2 separate regions of the Homo sapiens genome follow, and region 1 is linked to region 2. Evidence: promoter capture Hi-C in 16 types of primary human blood cells and fetal thymus (Javierre and others, 2016). All regions are on one chromosome and are shown on one strand. Each heading gives the region's core, a stretch centred on a gene start or on the middle of the fragment in contact. The rest is flanking DNA. Distances are from core to core; before and after follow the strand shown.

Region 1 (3,600 bases), core at 214-2,713, 320 kb before region 2:
TGTGCTGCATTATGTCTCCTGGGGAATGATATCTTATGGGATTAAATGGTTTTAACACCACTAAAAGAAAGTAGGTGGGGCAGTGGGATTCCTCCCACCCTTTCCCTGTTTTAAACAGCTTGATTGAGATATGTTTCACTTACCATACATTCCACCCATTTAAAATACTCACTGTATTTTACTATATTTATGGTTAGGTTCAGTTATCACTGAACATTTTTATCACCTCAAAAAGAAACTCCATGCCCTTTAGCTGTCACCCTAAGCCTCATCCCCCACAAGGCAGCCACTAATCTACTTTTTATCATTACATATTTCCCTCTTCTGAACATTTCATCTGAATGGAATAATAATATTTGGTCTTTTATGACTGGCTCCTGCAACTCAGCTTAGTGTTTTTCATGTTCATTCATGTTGTAGTATGTATCCGTGGTTCATTCCTTTTTATGGCCAAATAAAATTTCATTATATTAATATACTGAATTTTGTTTATCCATTTGTCAGTGGATGGAGGGATAGCGTTTTATAAAATGAAGTTTTAAATCTCCTGATTTTTAACATCATTTGATGTTCAAAGGTCAACTTTTCCCAGTGAATCTCTTTCGATTATTTTGGATGTGTTTATTGTGAAGATGATGTATTTCTTTGGTTCATAACATTTTTCTCAAGGTTTTTTTTGGGGGGAGGGGAGGGGTGGTTAACCATCTTTAAATTGCCCAGCTTTTTGTCTTTTACCATGTTGCCTGCAGTTTAAACCAATGGTACCTGGCCTTTTAGTGAGTCCAGCAAACCCAGGCTCTTGCGAATCTCCTGTCTCAGTTATAAGATCTAATGTGTTTTTTCGTTGAGAAGACACCAAGAAATTTCAGAACACATTAAGTACAACAAAATAATCATTTTTTACCAGCTTGCTATTTCTTCATATGACATTAAAAACAATTAGACAAATGTAAGGACCTTTCTTTGAATTGTTAATTAATTTTTAATTTTCTGGTTACCACCAAATAAGAGACATACTTTTAGGTATAATTTTCCATCATATGAATGTTTGAGTAGATTTTTTTAAGGAGACAGAATAACTTCATTGTTTCTCATTTGCTGCTGTTACTATTACATTAGGAGTAGTGACATTTGCACTATGGTTTAACATGCTTGTGGACCCTTAACATTTATAATCAGTTTTATAATCACTGATAATCATAGCATGTAAATTCTGTGTGCATTGTTCATTCAGACTTAGATTTATGTATTTCTTTGTATAAATGGAGAAAACATACCCACCTTACTAAAACTATAGATTTATATTAATACTCTCATGGTCAGAATTAGATAGACGTTTTAGGTTGTTAATAAAGCTTTTTTGTGGGATGTTTAAAACCGTAGATCTTTTGACCCATGTTCTGTATCTTTCTGACTCACCTCTTCCTTGTCTCCTTTTGATACTTGGTTGCAAAACTCTTCAGTACAACAGGTGGATATTCTTTTACATTCGTCATAGATGAGTTTTGTAATCAAGTACAAGTGAAATTGATATGTAGTCTTGTAGTTCATGCTGGTCTTAAGTAAGCTTAGTAGTTGTCCACCGTGCAAGAAAAAATGCAGAATTTTTTCGCTCAAGCTGTATTGTGATGTGGCCAGTTAGGAAGCTGATTTCTTCTCCCAAGGCAGTATTATATAAATTCTGAAAATTATACAGGGAGATATTTGCTGACTTAATCACCATTACTATCATGTGAGTTTTTTAGTCTTTGTGGCAATGTTTGAAGTACTGTCTTAGCATATCATACACAACCTATATAAAAGTGCTTGTTTCATCTTTTTGGTCATGTTTATAAGATCACTCTCTGCATCCACAATGCTAGCAAGCCATTAGTTTGTTTATTGCAGTGTATTCTATGGCAATCCTGGAATAATTAGCTTTCAGATTCATTACAGATAATTTGCTATTCCAGATTTTCGTCCACTAGGATAGACGTCTTTTGTGTGTGTGTGTGAGATGAAGGTCTCACTCTTCCATCCAGGCTGGGAGTGCAGTGGTATGATCATGGTTTACTGCATCCTTGACCTCTGAGGCTCAAGCAGTCTTCCCGCCTCAGCCTCCCGCGTAGCTAGAACCACAGGTGCATGCCACCACGCCCGGCGAATTTTTCATATTTTTATAGAGACGAGGTTTCGCCATGTTGTCCAGGCTGGTCTTTGGCTCAAGCTATGTGCTCTCCTCGGCCTCCCAAATTGCTGAGATTACAGGCATGAGCCACTATTCCCTGCTAGGATAGAAATGTCTTTGAAGAACAAATTTTCTTTTTTTAAGCCAGGCACAGTGGCTCATGCCTGTAATCCTAGCACTTTGGGAGGCCGAGGCAGGTGGATCACATGAGGTCAAGAATTCAAGAACAGCCTGGCCAACATGGTGAAACCCTGTCTCTACTAAAAATACCAAAATTAGCCAGCCATGATGGTGGGCGCCTGAAATCCCAGCTACGTGGGAGGCTGAGGCAGGAGAATCTCTTGAACCTGGGAGGCGGAGGTTGCAGCGAGCCAAGATTGTGCCATTGCACTCTAGCCTGGGCAACAAGAGCAAAACTCTGTCTCAAAAAGAAAAATTAAAAAAAAATTTCTTCTTTTCCCTCCATTAGAGCATTTTATTAATTATTGTGATGCATTTTCTTTTACCGCTGTACATACTGGCTAATTTTTATATTTTTTGTAGAGACCGGGTTTTGCCATGTTGCCCAGGCTGGTCTCGAACTCCTGGGCTCAAGCCATCCTCCTGCCTCAGCCTCCCAAAGTGCTGGGATTACAGGTTTAAGCCACCACACCTGAGTGGCTGCTTATGTTAATGACTAGCTTTTTCTATAATTTAATATTAATGTAGGTCATGTACTTAACTATTAAGCATTTTAAAATATTTTAAAATTTCATAATTCATATTGTAAATCTTGCTATACTCTCCAGAAATTAACAAGGGGAAAGAAGAGTTAAAAAGGTTTTTAGGGCCAGGCACCGTGGCTTACGCCTGTAATTCCAGCACTTTGAGAGGCCGAGGCGGGTGGATCACGAAGTCAGGAGTTTGAGACCAGCCTGACCAACATGGTGAAACCCTGTCTCTACTAAAAATATAAAAAATTAGCCCGGTGTGGTGGTGCGTGCATGTAATCCCAGCTACTCAGGAGGCTGAGGTGGGAGAATCACTTGAACCCTGGAGGCGGAGGTTGCAGTGAGCTGAGATTGCACCACCGTACTCCAGCCTGGGTGACAGAGTGAGATTCCGTCTCAAAAACAAACAAACAAACAAACAAACAAAAAATGGCTTTTAGGCCAGGTGCAATGACTCACACCTATAATCCCAGCACTTTGGGAGGCTGAGGCGGGCAAATCGCTTGAGCTTAGGAGTTTGAGACCAGTCTGGGCAACATGGTGAGACCCTGTCTCTACTGAAAATACAAAAATTAGCCAGAAGTGGTGGTGTGCACCTGTAGTCCCAGCTACTTGGGAGGCTGAGGTGGGAGGATTGTTTGAGCCCAAGAGGCAGAGGTTGCAGTGAGCCGAGATTATGCCACTGCACTCCAGCCTCGGTAACAGAGCGAGATCTGTCTCAGA
Region 2 (3,297 bases), core at 16-2,515:
TATTTTTTGTTAAGTCTATCTTATTTATTTATTTATTTTTGCAACATTTTCTTTCCTGATTACTAAAGTAATTGCTGTTTGGGGATGGTGGGGACATTGTCTGAATTTTTAATTTAAAAAGTAGTAAAGGACAATTTGTAGTAGGGGACAATTTGAAACAGAGGTCCCTGTTTTGTGTGTGTGTGTGTGTGTGTGCATGCGTGTGTGTGTGTGTCTATTTCTTGCTCCCTCCCTATCTCTTTCTGTCTGTATCTTACAATCTTAGGTCCTCTGTCTGTCTTCCTTCTTCTGTATGTATCTCTCTGTTCTCAGTAACCCAGCAGAGCACGTTGTGGCCCTCTGTACCCCCAGCACTGTCCCCACAACTGAGCACTTTGCCACTTAACTCTTGGTGGCTTGGGCGGCTGGGTCCACGGGCTCCTTTGAGGTTAGGAGCACCCCAGGGTGTGAGCTTTCCAAGACCACTTTCTCCCGGAGGCTGCAGGAACGGCCTCACTGCCATGCCGCTTTCAGCTGCTGTGATTCAGTGTCTCTGGTCTGCAGATCAGCTGGGCGATTCTCCCGTCAGCCCACATTGATTTTCCTGTAGATTACATTACCTCCAATCACAAAAGAAATTGTGCTTTCTCTCCTGGAGTGTCAGGGCAAAATGAATAGCAAACATTTTCCTGCAGGCAGCTCAGCTTTTCTGTCAAAGCCCACTTGAGCAGGCAGAGCACCGTCCTTGCTCCCCGAACCCCCAAATCTTTTCTCTCCAACTCAGTGGAAAAGTTTCTGGGATGAGGTGGGACATCAGATGCAACTTGGAACGCACAAGATATCCAATTATGCCTCAGTGAGATCCTTCGGTATCTTAAGACCTTCTAAATTATGGAATTAAGAGGGTTTAGAGGGGGAAAAGAGCGGGTGACACCAGATGTGTTAAGAATTTAGAATGTGCTTCTTCATATATTAAAAAAGACTCTTTGAATATCATCAAAGAGATTGAGCAATTTTTATTCCTTTTAAAAGTACTGATTGGGGTCTCTGGTCTCTGGCTGGTATGTGTGTGTGTGTGAGTGTGTCGGGAGGCTGTATCACAAGGGCCTCTCTTTCTACGCTTGGTTGGTGCCAGGTCCACTTTCTGAAACCCTGGCATGCAGGGCGAGCCTTGCTTGTGTGGGCGGCTTTGGCACGGAGTCCTGGCACGGTGGATGAAGAGAAGCGTCAGCACTTTTCAAACAACTAACTAGCAGCAGAAGGCGGGCGCCAATCTCCAAAGTGGGCTTTGTGGGAGAGAGGTCTGTGTCTGGGCAAACAACCTGCTTGTAGAGGCTGGAAGAGGAAAAGGCCAAAGACACCTGAAAAGTAAGAGAGAATCTTCTCTAGGGACACTGGGGAGCCACATAAACACACGTGCCTGCCCAGTTGAGCATGGGTTTCTGTGTATCCCACGTGTGTGTCATGAGATACTTATAGCAAGAATTTTCATTGATAACTTAGCCAATGTTTATTGAACAACAACCATGGGCCAGACACTGGGTCAATGCTCTACCTATCATTGACCTATCTTTTCACTTGTCATCTAAATTGAATCCTCGCAGTGGGAAAGGCAGTGTCATCCCTGTTGACGTGATCTGGAAACAGTGCGTTAGAGAGTATAGGAGACTTGCCAAGGTATTATGGATTGAATTGTGTCCCTGACCCCAAGAAATGTGTTGAAATCCTAACCTTCCCCACCTGTGAATGTGACGTTATTTGGAAAAAGGGTCTTTGTGGATGATCAAGTTAGGAAGGAGTCATTAGGATGGGTCCTGATCCAATATGACTGGTAGAAAAACCAGGGAGATTTGGACACAGAGGGAAGACCATGTGAAGACTCAGGGAGAAGAGGAAGGACAGCCATCTGTAAGCCAAGGAATGCCAGCGATTTCTAGGAGGGAGGCCTAGACGAGATCCTTCCCCCACAGTCCTCAGAAAGAGCCAACCCTGCCAACAGCCTGATAGCGAACTTTTAGCTTCCAGAACCATGAGACAATATATGTTTGTTGTTGAAGCCACTTAGCCTGTGATACTTTGTATGGGAGCCCCAGGAAGTAACTACACAAGCTCACCCAAACTGTGGGTGGTGGAGCTGGTGTGTATGTGTCCAGGCCCTGCCTGTCCCCGCAGTTATGCAGTGTAGCCTGCACACTGCTGGTTTCCTTGATGAGGGCCCAGCCAGTGCCTGGATGTGCTCCCGTGGGCCTTGGATGTTTAGGAGTTGGTATGTTGGGATGGTTTGGGGGCAGAGGCCAAAGGGAGACTTTATGATGAATCTAGCGTCTTATATATACTTTTGCTTACAGGTCTAGGAATCTGCTAATTTTATCATTTATATAAAGAACCTTAAAATGTGTATATCTTTTGACCTATTGCTAGAAATCTATTAAAATAATGATAAAAATGGTGACATATTTCTGTAGAATTATATATCATAGTACTACTTACGAAACAGGTAGGAACGTTCCACATCCCAGGAATGTATGAAATGCCACATTTCCATATTTTCTAAAGTGAAATGAAATCTGATAGAAGTTGACACTAGCCAAGGGTGGTGAGAAGAACTCTGAATTCCTCTACCCCAGCTGGGTTGGCAGAACCTCTCTAGCCATAGTGTGTGGTGTCAGCCACATAGACAGCCACGTAGCAGTGCCCATCTGAGGTCACCCAGAGCATCGGGCTCAGATAGGGCCATATCTCCACCATAGGTCACAGTTCAAGTCTTATTTCTTTCCCCAGTCTTGGGGAGTCATTTAGCCAGGGAGGAGCCCATCTGTTAAACGTCTGCAGCCCACATCATTCATCCTCTTCCTTGGACGATGTAGTCTATAGGTGTCAAGGGCCTCTGTTTTTGAAACACAAAGCTCTCTCACAAAGTACCATAATCTCCTTTAAATAAGCAAAATAACCTTTCAGAAGTACATTTTCTCTCTCTCTCAGGGGTTATAGCACAGCAGTTGTTGAGAAAGATGTTTCATCTTTCTTTCATGTGACCACAGGAGTCAAAACAAACACAAATAACAAAACAACACAACTTCCAAATAACAAATCCCTAACACAAATAATGGCTACATTTAAATGCCCAATCATTCAGACTCATTACATTGATTATAATCCAAACACATATATTAGACATAGACATTAAATTTTTAGTTAACATTAATAGGAGACAAAGTTCAAGTTGTAATGTAAAGTGAAAAAATAGAACACTATATTATTTTCTATTGCTGCATAACAAATTATTGTAAGTTTAGCCACTTACGGCAACACCCATTT

The links. The method cuts DNA at HindIII sites, captures the fragments that hold promoters and counts their contacts. A CHiCAGO score of 5 or more calls a contact.
Region 1: a fragment that was not itself captured here is called in contact with the fragment with the promoter of LINC03041 in region 2 in 1 of 17 cell types (M1 macrophages); the score reaches 6.5 in M1 macrophages.

What each region holds. Positions count from the first base shown.
Region 1 is chr9:16,589,202-16,592,801 of GRCh38, reverse strand. All of the region lies in intron 3 of BNC2 (basonuclin zinc finger protein 2), which reads left to right. Among named protein-coding and RNA genes, the nearest start is that of BNC2-AS1, 140 kb to the left of the region's middle. The HindIII fragment of the contact is 212 bases long and covers 1,358-1,569 here.
Region 2 is chr9:16,274,281-16,277,577 of GRCh38, reverse strand. It overlaps LINC03041 (long intergenic non-protein coding RNA 3041), which reads left to right and starts at 1,265. Exons shown (of 4, transcript NR_171034.1): 1 at 1,265-1,347. The HindIII fragment of the contact is 10,629 bases long and covers 1-3,297 here.